Regions from separate parts of the Homo sapiens genome. Here all the other regions are linked to region 1. Evidence: promoter capture Hi-C in 16 types of primary human blood cells and fetal thymus (Javierre and others, 2016). All regions are on one chromosome and are shown on one strand. Each heading gives the region's core, a stretch centred on a gene start or on the middle of the fragment in contact. The rest is flanking DNA. Distances are from core to core; before and after follow the strand shown. Region 1 holds the start of ISM1 (isthmin 1). Region 2 overlaps SPTLC3 (serine palmitoyltransferase long chain base subunit 3). Region 3 overlaps SPTLC3 (serine palmitoyltransferase long chain base subunit 3). Region 4 has its middle 69 kb from the start of ISM1-AS1. Region 5 overlaps ISM1 (isthmin 1).

Evidence for each region. The method cuts DNA at HindIII sites, captures the fragments that hold promoters and counts their contacts. A CHiCAGO score of 5 or more calls a contact.
Region 2: a fragment that was not itself captured here is called in contact with the fragment with the promoter of ISM1 in region 1 in 2 of 17 cell types (naive CD4 T cells and non-activated CD4 T cells); the score reaches 6.7 in naive CD4 T cells.
Region 3: a fragment that was not itself captured here is called in contact with the fragment with the promoter of ISM1 in region 1 in 1 of 17 cell types (naive CD4 T cells); the score reaches 7.2 in naive CD4 T cells.
Region 4: a fragment that was not itself captured here is called in contact with the fragment with the promoter of ISM1 in region 1 in 1 of 17 cell types (naive CD4 T cells); the score reaches 5.2 in naive CD4 T cells.
Region 5: a fragment that was not itself captured here is called in contact with the fragment with the promoter of ISM1 in region 1 in 1 of 17 cell types (naive CD4 T cells); the score reaches 5.2 in naive CD4 T cells.

What each region holds. Positions count from the first base shown.
Region 1 is chr20:13,219,977-13,222,544 of GRCh38, reverse strand. ISM1 (isthmin 1) reads right to left here and starts at 1,271. Exons shown (of 6, transcript NM_080826.2): 1 at 631-1,271. The coding sequence starts at 768. It also overlaps a transcript of TASP1 not described here. RefSeq lists silencers at 840-909, 1,369-1,488. The HindIII fragment of the contact is 8,964 bases long and covers 1-2,568 here.
Region 2 is chr20:13,109,174-13,111,741 of GRCh38, reverse strand. SPTLC3 (serine palmitoyltransferase long chain base subunit 3) reads right to left here. Exons shown (of 12, transcript NM_018327.4): 7 at 1,525-1,630. It also overlaps a transcript of TASP1 not described here. Among named protein-coding and RNA genes, the nearest start is that of SPTLC3, 100 kb to the right of the region's middle. The HindIII fragment of the contact is 1,328 bases long and covers 628-1,955 here.
Region 3 is chr20:13,126,988-13,129,555 of GRCh38, reverse strand. All of the region lies in intron 9 of SPTLC3 (serine palmitoyltransferase long chain base subunit 3), which reads right to left. It also overlaps a transcript of TASP1 not described here. Among named protein-coding and RNA genes, the nearest start is that of ISM1, 93 kb to the left of the region's middle. The HindIII fragment of the contact is 2,181 bases long and covers 192-2,372 here.
Region 4 is chr20:13,307,017-13,309,584 of GRCh38, reverse strand. It overlaps a transcript of TASP1 not described here and a transcript of ISM1 not described here. Among named protein-coding and RNA genes, the nearest start is that of ISM1-AS1, 69 kb to the right of the region's middle. The HindIII fragment of the contact is 2,375 bases long and covers 94-2,468 here.
Region 5 is chr20:13,288,865-13,291,432 of GRCh38, reverse strand. All of the region lies in intron 4 of ISM1 (isthmin 1), which reads right to left. It also overlaps a transcript of TASP1 not described here. Among named protein-coding and RNA genes, the nearest start is that of ISM1-AS1, 50 kb to the right of the region's middle. The HindIII fragment of the contact is 2,878 bases long and covers 1-2,568 here.

The sequences.
Region 1 (2,568 bases), core at 22-2,521:
TTCACTCTGCACCTTCCCCATGACCAAGGGGGCACAAGGGGGGAGGGGGGAACCTCAGGCGAGGCTCCCGGAGGAAGAGGAACACTGGAAGCAAGGGAACCCTGAGGGTGAGGAGGGGATGCCTGGCTATTCTCCTTGGGAAATTATGTCCTGACCTTTGGCATTGCTTCCTAAAGGGGTAGACTCCCGGAGTTCTTTCTCCCAAAGACTTCAGGGATATCATCCTATAAAGTCTCCTTGCGTCCCTCCAGCCTCGAGTAACATTACTCAGCCTCCGAAGGGCAACGAAAGACTGGTAGCACCCCCAAGCAAGCACATTCTCCACACTTCCTCTGCTCATCCCAAACCTCGCTCCTTCCCACCTCCCCACCAACCCCGCACCTGACCCGTGACAGACAGAACTGAAGGAGCGCAGCCCGCAGACCTGGAAGCCGGGTGCAGCCTCCAGGCACGTGCCCCCGCTCCGCCTCTGCCTAAGTCAAGTGGCCCGGGCAAAACTACTGCCAAAACAGTTGCTCTTAGGTGGGGCAGGGGACCTGCCTCCCTGCATCCACCCGGCACTAGCTCAGCACCCCCGCCCCACAAACCGTCCCCGCAGCCGCGCACGGCCCTCTCCGGCGGCGCACTCACCTGCAGCTGGGCTTGGCTGGCGTTGCCCGCGGCCGCGTCGGGCCCGTCGGCGGCTCCCGAGCCGCGCAGCACGGTGATGTGCAGCGTGAGCAGCAGCAGCCCCAGCAGCAGCAGCAGCTCGGCCGCCAGGCGCACCATCCTTTTGAGACGCGCGGCTTTAGGACCCGGCGCGGCGGCCGGCGGCGGCGGCGGTGACGCCGGGGGAGGAGGAGTAGGAGCCCGGGAGCCCGGCAGCGCGGCTCCCGCCTCGGCTCCCGCCAGGGCTCCGCTTCCCGGGCCCGCGGGGCTGGCGCTGGGCGCGGCGGGGTGTGCGGGGCCGGGGGAGCAGGAGCTGCCGGCGCCGCCGCCGCCGCCGCCGCCGCACCACGGCGGAGCCACCGCGAGGCCGGGGGTGTCCAAGCCGGCTGCGGAGCAAGCCCCGGCGCTGCCTGGCGGCGGCGGCGGCGGAGACGGAGACTGGGTCCCGGGACAGCCCGGGACCCGGGCCGGGCCGGAGGCCACCCTGCTGGCAGGGGGCTGCGGGGTCGGCGGCGGGGCGGGCGCAGCCGAGCCCCCGAGCGCACATGGGCGCCCCAGATGTGGCCGCGGCGCCGCAGCTGGAGCGGGAGCGGCCGCCAGAGAAGCGCGGGGAGGAGGAGGAGGAGAAGGAGAAGGAGGAGGAGGAGGAGGAGGAGGAGGAGGAGGAGGAGGAGGAGTAGGAGGGCTTCAGCTGCGGCCGGGAGTTACCTCCACGCTTGGCGCCCCCGCCCTCGCCGCCCCGAGCCACTCACCCGGCAAGCCACCTCCACTACTCTCCGCGCTCCTCGGGGCCGCCTGCCGCGCCGCCCCGCACTCGGAGTCCCGGGGAGGGCCGGTTCCAGATGGGGGCCCCGGGCACACCGAGGTTGTCACGGTTTGGCGGTAGCCGGGGCGCCCTCGGCGGCAGCGTCAGCCTGCCGGGCTGTACCAAGTGCCCGCTGCCGAGGTCGCTGTGACGGGCGCGGGTAGAGCCCTTGTGCACACTGAGGCTCGGGGCTGTGGGTGGGTGGGGTGGTGCCTGGGCTGCTTTAGAAACCTTTATTGGCAAACTGGAGCTGGAGTTGCAGTGATGGAAAACGGAGGGGGCGCCGGACAAGCCATGCGTCTGCCTGCGACCCCTGCCTGAAGCAGTCGGGGGAGAGGAGGAGTGCCAAAGTGTCGTTCCGAAGGGTCTTGACACTTGCTGGGCCGCCCGCTAGCCGGGCACGGCTGTTCGCGGATCCGCGGCGCCCCGTAGAGCCTGGGAAGGGAGGGGAGTCCGACTCTCTAGGCGTTCGTCTGGTCACGGGCGCAGGTGTTGGCTGGAAGCTGCAGAGACGCAGTGCCCGCGGCTCAGGCGCTCAGGAACTCGGAGTGAATCTCAGCTCTAGTGGGCTTGCCTCTGTGGGGGGCTCATCCCGGGGGTGCCGCGCCCAGAGGGGATTTGGGGGCTGGCGTCGCGCAGCTGTCGATCCCGGGCCACCGCCTCATGACCGCGCTGCAGCCTCGGGCTCCCGCGTGCGGCTCATGCCTTGCAGTGGGCGGTTGGCGAATGGAAGGGCTCTGGGATCCGGCTGAGGGCGCGGAGTCCGAGCGTCAGATGCTAGAGCGAACTGTGTCGGTCCGTGGCACCGCGCACTTCCCTCCTTGACCTTGCTCGGGCTCCCGCCTTACCGAAGTGACTCGGAGTAGCGGACGCTCAGTCCGGCCGGGACTTTTATACTGCGCTTCCCCTCCTCCTACCCGTTCCCTCCCTTCCTCCTCCCCAGCGCCGGCCCAGCCCTTCCCTCCCAGCGAGCCAAGACCTAGTCCACGCGTTCGCACACAGCCGCGTCGCACATTTCCAAGCCTTTCCCGCGTCCCGGACCCCAGTGCCTCCGGGATGGAGCCTCCGAATTCTCCCTTGGTGAATGAAATTAAATAAATAATCAACTCTTTCTT
Region 2 (2,568 bases), core at 42-2,541, 110 kb after region 1:
TCTCTCTCAGCTGATCTGTGTTCCCACGAATCTAGGCCTGAATGACAGGTGTTTAGATAAGGGCTATTTGCTCCCCTCCCAGGCTGGCAGCAGGCACAAATCACACAGGGAAAAAGATCCATGCTTGAGGTTATGACAGCCCAGAGTCAATATGAGATTATTTCTTAAAATTGCAAGTTAAGGCCTACGAGTTGTCAGTTATACCAGAACAGGTTTTCTCAGCCTTAGCACTATCGACATTTTGAGCTAGATAACTCTGTGTTGTAGGGGCTGTCCCATGCATCGTAGGATGCTTGGCAGCATCCCTGGCCTCTGTCCACCATATGCCAGTCACACACTACTGCAGTTATAATGACTGAAAATCGCCAAATGTGCCTAGGCTGGGGCAAGGACAAGCTCACCCTGGAGAACTACTATGTCTAGAGTGCTCCCAAAGACTTCATCAACAGTACATACTCTCTGGGCTGGCTGGAGGAGGTAATGGTAGGTGATGCAGAAAGTGAGCTGGTAGAAACTGGAAATGCAAACTTTGCATTTCCCACAGTAGGACTGGGAACATCCAGAACCCTAACCATGGGGGCAGAAGTACTGGAGTTAAAAATGTTAAAAATAAAATGAAACCAAGCTTCTTATTATTATTATTTTAGAGTTGGGAGAATTCACTTTTTTTTTCTTAAAAGGAATAAAGGCACACTTCTGCTGCTGCTCATTATCCACTCATGCAGCAGAAAAAATGTGCACTCAGGGACTAATGAGATTAGCGGGCTGAAAGAAATCCTATGTCTATCCTCAAGTCTCCTTTGTAGCCACACTCCTCCTTGTCTTAAAGTTGAACAGCCTTCACTTCCTTCCTTTTAATATTTTTCACTTTTCTATCATTATAGGAGATATCCCCCTCAATTTGCCTAACGTCAGGATTGTTTGAGAATTGATTCAGGATTGGGCACTCTGAAATAATGTCTCCTTGGCTTATGGACTAGACATCAGCCCATTCCTACCCGCTGGCTCTGGAACAAGAATTGCACCCCAGGTTACTCCTACCTTGGGGAAAACAGGCAGATCTTTTGTATTGATGGCAATCACTAACAAAGTTCAGCAAGCAGCTGGGGGTTGGGCGTGCTGTCCAGGTAGGGGCATCCGGGCCACCCATCAACAATTTCTACCAGTCATAAAGGCAAGGAGTGTTTTGATCTTGAATAACCCAGCTGCGAAACGCCTTTGAAACTCTGGGGCAGTCAAAGGTAGTGGAAAGATCAACTCAAGTTAGCAATGCCTTGAGAGGATATTTCTGAGGAAGCCTTCACAAGCCGGCCAGCCTCCAAGCTGCTGTGCCATATATAGAGTCATCAAAAAGACAGATAACCCACGTCTGACAGCTCCCATTGGTGGCTCTGTCTCAGGTCCCTGTGTCATATAACCAATTCTAAGTCATTTCTCTGTTTAGCTAGGAAAGGTGAGCCTTTCCGCACTGGTCAGCTTGCTGCAGGCCTCCGAGTCGTAAAATGTGTCCTGTTATTTACATACCTGTAGACACCCTCCACCAGGATGAGAATCTTTTTCCAAGCTCTGCGGGTTCGAGGCTGGCCATAGATGACAGCATCTCTCAGGAGCTTCTCTAGGCTTTGTGTGTCTTTAAATAATACCAAAAAAAAAAATTGAGTCATGAAAGGGTTTACTTTTCCTTTTCCACTTTCTTTTTCCAGATGTTTTATGTTCACACTCAGACCTAAACTTTCAGAGAACAAATTCAGAATCAGAGAACCCTTAGGGAGAGAGAGACAGAGGTCTATTTTTCAGTAGAACTTAACTCTGACAAGACAAATAGTTGGATTTGTACAAGTAGGCAGAGTAAACTCTCACCAGTGGGGCATGGTTTCCTAGGCTCTTAAAGGCTCTCCCCGCCTGCCTTAGAGAGATTGAAATTCTACGTTAAATGCATCTCTTAGGTCTAAGCTTTGTTGCAGGCTGAAATGAACTCTGAGAGACATAATTAATACCACTCATCAATCGTGTAGACATGAGCATGTTAGAGTTTAGCTGAGTTTGCACGGATCTCACTTCCTACACTTTGAGCCTTGATTTCTGACATCCCCCAGTCTTAGAAGTTTCAAAACTTTAAAGCAGTGGGACAATTAAGCCTCTTTTTCAAAATATTTGGGGATCTCTGAACACAATAATAGCTCACAGTTATTGAGCCCTATCTGTGTGCCAGGCACCCTTCTAAGCTCAGTTTTTGTCATACCTCATTTAATCCTCATAAGAACCATCTGGAGGAAGTACTAGTAGCATTTCCATTCTGTGGTTCAGGAAACTGAGACACAGAGGAGTTGAGTAAACTGCCTGAGGTCTATCATAAGCAACAGAATCAGGATTTGAACCCATGTAGTCTGTACTGTAATCCACATTTGTAACACTACCCTTTGCTGCCTTATGTGAAAGCCATTGTCCCTTCTTCTCAAATGAAATGGTGATGTAGAACAAGGGAGGATGAATGTCTGGCAGAATAATCTTGTTAACTTCTAATGTCAAATATAATCAATAGTGACAATTCATTTATCTGCTATCAGA
Region 3 (2,568 bases), core at 33-2,532, 93 kb after region 1:
GTCACTTGTCTTTAAAACAAGACCAAAGAATAATTCTAGTCATTCTGAGACAATTCAGTTAACTTGCATTTTTGCTTAAATCTCAAATAATTGATTTTCCATTAAGAAACACTTGAAGTTTAAGAAGAGAATTAATATGGCTTTGTGGGAAGCCAGTAGTTCCAGAACAGTTTTTCATACAGCAGAAAGCTTGTGGAGGAAAAGATGCCACTCTATCTCGCTTCAATGTTAAAAGGTTAAAAGATACCTGTTTAAGACAGGCACAGTGGCTCACGCCTGTAATCCCAGCACTTTAGGAGCCTGGGGTGGGCAAATCACTTGAGGCCAGGTGTTCCCGACCAGCATGGCCAACGTGGTGAAACCCCGTCTCGACTACAAATACAAAAATTGGCCAGGTGTGGTGGCTCGTGCCTGTAATCCCAGTGCTTTGGGAGGCCGAGGCAGGCAGATCACCCGAGGTCAGGAGTTTGAGACCAATCTGGCGAGACCCCATCTCTACTAAAAATACAAAAATAGCCAGGCATGGTGGGGGACACCTGTAATCCCAGCTACTCGGGAGGCTGAGGCAGGAGTATTGCTTGAACCCAGGAGGCGGAGGTTGCAGTGAGCTGAGATCGCACCATTGTACTCCAGCTTGGGTGACAAGAGCGAAACTCTGTCTCCAAAAAAAAAAAAAAAAAAAAATTAGCTGGGCATGGTGGTGCATGCCTGTTGGTGCACACCTGTAGTCCTGACTACTCAGGAGGCTAAGGCAGGAGAATCACTTGAGTCTGGGAGGTGGAGGTTGTAGTGAGCCAAGATCATGTCACTGCCCTTCAGCCTGGGTGACAGAGCAAGACTCTGTCTCAAATTTTAAAAAAACCCAAAAAACAAAAAAGAACCTCCTCCCCCTCCAAAATAAAAGGTACCTGTTTATCCAATGTCTGTATCCCTTAATTTACCCCTACCTCTTTTCAGGGGTGTGGCCATATGACTAGTTTTAGCCAATAATTGTAAGCAAGGTGATAAGAGTCACCTCTAGGCTGACCCTCTCTTTCTTTTTACCTTGGTAACCATGGGGGCCATGTGTTGAGATGATGAACCCTTAAGGTGAAAGCAGCCTGAGTCACTGTCTTCAAGGACAAGCACTGTGTAGAGAGTTGACTGATTGGTATTAGATGTGATGCAAACAAGAAATACCTTGGTTCTGTTAAGCCACTGAGATCTACAGGGTTTATTTGTTATGGTGGCAAAACCTCCCTTATCCTGACTAATCCAGGATCTTAGAGGACATCTAGTCCTACTTCACTTCTGTCATAAGGATGCTTCCTACAGCATCTCTGAGAAATGCTTCAAATACTTGTCGATCACCTCAGAAACAACAGCAAATAATAGTAGCAAGCAATTATACAATGCTTACTGATACTTGTCTCCAGACACAATGTTAAATATTTTGTACAGATTAATTTGCCTACTTCTCACAAAAACCTTGGCTCATAAATATTGTTTTTCTCACTTCATAACTGGATGAATTGAAGTACAGAGAAGTTGAGTAACTTGCTCAGGGTTGAATAGATAAGTCACTCATCTAAGGCCACATACGAGTGAATAGTATCACAGGAGCAGATTCAGGCAGCTACCTTCAGTCTCATACCATAAGGGCTTCCTAGACTGGACTGTCGTTTTCTTTTCACAAAGACCAACCAATAGGATGCAGAGTCATAACACCGAAAAGGCAAGCCTGGAAGGGATCCTAGAGATCAGCCAATCACCGCATTTCATATGGAGGAAAAAATATCCTCCTGCAGGCCTTTACCCTGCTTTAGTGAAAAAGAAAAAGTCTTGTCTTTCAAACAAGTGTCTTGGGGAGCACTAGGGCTCAGTAGAAGGGCCCCAGGGGGTATCAGTATGGGGGTAAGTGAAGACACTACTTTAACTAGATCAGCCTTGTTCTTATCTGTTTTATATAGTAGGCTTCTAGCAAAATTTGTATGTGAATATTCTGCTGCTTTAATAATATTGAAAACTGATGGAGTACCCCATACTTCTACTGAAATAGCAGGCTTGAAGCATTGCATTAAACAATGTAGGACTTCAGGTCAGCTGGGAGGTGGGGTGAGGCACATAGATTGTACAGTCCAGTGGCCAGGATAAATTGCTACTTCCATAAATGTGCTCACCAGTTTGCCTGGCAGCAAGAACTGCCTTATTCAGCACCGTATCCCCTCTGGTGTGTGACATGTGGTAGAATCTGTATAAACCATCTCTGCAAGATGGAGGGAGAGTTCCAAGAGGCTTTTATGAAACAATTTTTCAAAAAGAGGATTAATTTGGGTTGAGCAAAGTAGCACAGTTTAGCTCTGGTCCCACTGACAAAGAAATGGCTGGAAGCTTATTGTGTGTGTTTTGTCTATATATCCTCAATGGCCAGTGGTGGCCTTCCACTGTCCAACCTCTGGCTATAAAAAATAAAAGGATTGAAAAATTGGATATTAAATTGGCTACTTTGGTCTTAGGGAAACACAAGTGACAGCCCCAAGCAAGCACAGGCAAACATGTGCACGCTCACGTGCGCGCACACACACGCAC
Region 4 (2,568 bases), core at 32-2,531, 87 kb before region 1:
TCCAGAACTGTGCTGAATATAAGCAGTAAGAGTGAGCATGCTTGTCTTGTTCCTGATCTTGGAGGAAAAGCTTTTCACTGATGGTTAAAAGCTTTAATGAACTTTTCACTGATGAGTATGATGTTAGCTGTGGGCTTGTGCTATATGGTCTTGATTGTGTTGAGGTGCATTTCTTCTACACCTAATTCATTGAGAGTTTTTATTATGAAATAATATTCAATTTTGTCAAATACTCTCTTCATCTCTTGAGATGAGCATAAAATGTTTTGTCCTTTATTCTGTTAGGCTTTTTTTTTTTAAAGAAATAAAATGTTACCTCTAAAGTATCCCCTCCTCCACCCACTCACTGTCATTCATCTCAGAGGTAACTATTGTCTTGAAGTTGGTGCTTAGTCTTCCCATGCATAGTTTAGTATTTTTATTATGTATGTTGGTGTCCAGATATAATGTAGCCTTGCATTGTGAGTTTTAAATTATTAAAATTGTATACTACTTTCATATACTGTCTTAGTCAGTTCAGGCTGATACAACAAACTACCATAGACTGAGTGGCCTATAAACAACAGAAATGTATTTCTCACATTTCTGGAGGCTGGAAGTCTGAGATCAAGGTGCTAGCATGGCCAGATTTTGCTGAGAGTCCTCTTCTGGTTTATAGACTGCTGACCTCTCATTTTGTGCTTACATGGTGGAAAGAGGGCAAGAGAGCTCTCTCGGGGTCCCTTTTGTAAGGATGCTAATCTCATTCATGTGGGTTCCACCCTCATGACCTAATAACCTCCCATAAGCTGCACCTCCGAATATCATAACTTTGGGGGTTAGGATTTCAACATTTAAATTTTGGGGGAACACAAATGTTCTGTACCTAACATGCATCCATCTGTAATTTTCTTTTTCAGACAGTATAGACACATTTTTGACAATACGAATAGCCTAGATCATTTAACAGCTGGATTGTATTCTCTATTATGAACTTAACATGGTTGATTTGTCTGTTCCTCTGTTGGTGGACAATTTAAACTGTTTCCACTTTTTGACAATACAAAAACAGGCCCTCAGGAGTGAAACTGATGCATCCAGCTATGTGGCAGATTCAACTTACTAGATATAGGCAAAGTACTGTTCAATTCATAACACCATAAGCGGTGATGGTAAGAGTTTCTGTTTCCTCATCGCCTTGCCAAGACTTGGAATCATTGGGTTTATTTTCCTAAATAATAATGTATAAATTCTGGCTCACTAGTTATTACTGCCATAATTAATCACACCCTCATTTGGTCCCATGGTACCATTTACATTGTATTACAAGCATCTGAGTTACATCAGATTCACACTGTGTTACAGACACCCCCACTGGGCCATTCATTCATTGATGATGGATTCCTGTCTATTCCTTTTTGTGTCCCCAGCACGCAGCACAGTGAATGGGGCTCAGTATGCACGTATTGAGTTAAACATAAATAATTAAGAGATCACAGAGTGGAGTAGTCAGGAAAGACAGTGAAGGGGGTGAAATTGAGATTGGCTAAAGAATGGGAACTTTCAAACACTCCTAAACGGAGTGTCCACCAGGACAACCACTTTGGAAAACTACTGGGCAGTATCAACTAAAGCTGTGCATGCCCTATGACCTTCTAATTCCACTCCCCATGGAAATGTGTGAATACGCACACCCAAAAGCACACCCTGGACTGTCCATAGTAGCACTCTTTGTGAAAGCCCCAATCTAGAAACAATCCAAATGTTCCTCCATGGTAGAACTGTTAAATAAAATTGTGATATATTCACACATTGGAAATGTGATAAGCATGAATGACCTTTAGCTGCAAGCAGCGATATGGAAGAATTTCACAATCCAATATTGAGCAAAATATGCCAGACCTCACAGAGCGGGTGCTGTACGATTCCATTTACCCGAAGGTCAAAATCAGACAAAACTAATCTGGTGTAAAATTCATGATACTGATTATTCTTGGTGAGGAGTGAGTGCCCGTTACTGGACGGGGGCATGGGAGTGCTGGTTTTGCCTTATTTATTTTGTGTTGTGGTAAAATTTACATACAAAGAAATTCAGTTTTTAAAAAGTGTACACTTCAGTGAGTTTTGACAATCAAACCACACAATATATAGAACATTTCTGTAGCCCCAGAGAGCTCCTTCATGAGCCTTATATTCTGTTTTTTCTTGGTGTTGGTATGGATGTTGGTGACATGGGTGTATTCACTTTGTGAAAATTCATTGAGCCGTGAACTTATGATACGTGTGTGCTTTTCTGAATGTATGTACTACTTCCATAAAATGTTCCAAAAGTATTTTGAAAAAGACTGGCCCAAAGGATGGCCAATTGGCTATAAGAGGGTCAAATGTGTGGCCGAGGGGATGGGAGGAATGCTGTGGGGAGGTTGACTGGAATGGTGCTGTGTAGACATAGTGAAGAGTGGAACAGAAAGTGAGTTTGATGTTAAGCTTCAGCTTTATACATTTGCTGCTGGTGAGTAGTGTGAACAAGCCTTTATCTTTCTGGCACTGGATCAGCTGCTTTTGTTCTTTCTCTCTCCCTCCAATATC
Region 5 (2,568 bases), core at 21-2,520, 69 kb before region 1:
CAGGGTTGACCTACAGGACAAACTTTTACAGTGTAATAACTGCCAGGCCAGGGAGACTTTGCCCCATGAGTCTTTCCAGGAAAGCTGGGAATCAACGAATCAAACAAGTAAAGAGATCCTTAAAAACGAAATCCTTCATGTTACAAGGGAGCCCAGAAAAGCTGCAATAGCCAGGAACTGAGAGGCAGAAAGGATGCAAGGAGGGTGAGGACACACGAGAAGAAAAGGTATGAAGAGGGCTCCTGGCCACACTGCTCTCCGCGGTGACAGAAAACAAGAAGGAAACATTTGTAAATGGAGGCAGAGGGGAGCCTTCCCCTGACAAGGCACTTAAATCTACCACCTTGAGTCTGGATGTGAGCTCTGGAAGAGAAAACAACAGGAAAGCCCCCAAACCTTGACTTCAAATGCTATCTGTGTCCCTGTGTGGCTGATTCCAATACCCTTCTCTTGGTAAAGACCAAAGAGTTTAATGATTAAGAATATGAACTCTGTAATCAGACTGTCCGGATTCAAATTCCAGGTTGATCACTTGCTTTCTGTGTGACTCTAGGCAAGTTAATCCTCTATGCCTCAGTTACTATAGCTGTCGAATGAGTACAATCATAAATACCTATTTCATAAAGTTATTGTGAACATTAAACAAAATAATACCTGTAAGGACTTTAGCCATTTGCTTGACACTTAAGTACTCAAAAAATCTTCTTCATCATCATCTATTTTATTTTTTCTTCTTCACCTTTATCTTCATTTTCTTTCTTTCTTTTTTTGTTTTGAGACGGAGTCTTGCTCTGTCGCCCGGGCTGGAGTGCAGTGGCCCGATCTCGGCTCACTTGGCTCACTGCAAGCTCCGCCTCCCGGGTTCCTGCCATTCTCCTGCCTCAGCCTCCCGAGTAGCTGGGACTACAGGCGCCCGCCACCATGCCCGACTAATATTTTGTATTTTTAGTAGAGACGGCATTTCACCGTGTTAGCCAGGATGGTCTCGATCTCCTGACCTTGTGATCTGCCCGCCTCGGCCTCCCAAAGTGCTGGGATTACAGGCATGAGCCACCGCACCAGGCAATCTTCATTTTCTTTTGCCTCATCTTTTTACCTTCATCATTATTTTCGTTTACTTCATATTCTTCTCTTTTTCATTTCCTTCCTGTTTCCCTCTTCCTCCTCCTCATATTGTTATTATTTATTGCTTATTTCTACACATCCAGATTCCACCCACCAGGCTTCCAACTCAGCTCATCCTAATGAGCATGGGAAAGTCAGGAAAAGCACCGTAATGGTTGCTCCACTGTTTTGAAATCCATCTGCATGGCTGACATGGAGCCAGAACCGCCACTTCTTGCATTTCAGCCCTGTTTTCTACGTGTCCCCTTTTGCTAACATACACATTCATTCCAATCTGATTCTTCCTCCCTCTCCTCAGAAACGCCTTTGTGCTTTCATTTCTCCTTTGTTCCAAATGTCTCTGGTTGGAGAACTGAGTGTCTAAGGTAGAAAAAGGAAGTCTGGGGTGTAAGGATCAGATTTTCTGTCTCTGAAATTTTTTTCAGCCAAAGCCATTTGGAATGTGTGGTTTCTTGAAAGGCTCTAAGATATTATTTTAGGCTGGTATTCTACCTGGCAATGGGAAATACACAGTAAGACTATACACCAGGAGTTACTAAGCCTTTTTTAAAGGGTCAGAGGGTACATATTTTAGGTTTTGTGGGTCACATATGGTCTTGGTTGCAGCTTCCTCCTCCTCTTCCTCCTCCTCCCCCTCCTCCTCCTCCTTCTCTTCCTCCATGCCCTTCCCCTTCTCTTCTTCCTCCTCCTTCTCTTTCTTCTTCTCTTCACAACAGTTTAAAAATGTATGGGACACACAAAAACAGGTCTCGAGCCAGACCTGGCCATAGTTTGACAACCACTGCTATAGTCAATCACAATTATTGTTGACTCTCAACATGACCTCTCACCAAGTGTGCAATTAGTTTAGTTTTTGAAGCACTGACAATGCAGTATAAAGTGACAGTTAACTACCAAGACGCCCCAGGTTGCGCTCCTGGGAGCCTTTGGCAACTCTCTGGTATTACCGGTGGGGCTGTCTTTTTCCTGCAGATGGTTGTCAAGCCTCTCATCCTGGCTTCCTCATCAGACCATGAGTGTCTGCCTTCTGTTTCTCTTCAAGGGACAACAAATCCCACATCAAAAACCCAATCTAACCAGAGTCCCTCCTCTAAATTAAATAAGTACAATGCGACATTGTCTTTTAGGTCACGGCCACTGCAATTGTGCATAAGACTCAGAAAATCCATTCAGCTCATCAATTATCTCCTGACTCACTCTGGTCAGAAGTCTTATTAGAAAAGTAGTTACATCTTGCCTCATGCCTGTAATCCCAGCACCTTGGGAGGCTGAGGCGGGCGGATCACAAGGTCAGGAATTTGAGACCAACCTGGCCAACATGGTGAAACCCCTTCTCTACTTAAAAAACTACAAAAATTAGCCAGGCATGGTGGCATGTGCCTGTAATCCCAGCTACTCAGGAGGCTGAGGCAGGAGAATTGCTTGAACCCAGGAGGTGGAGAT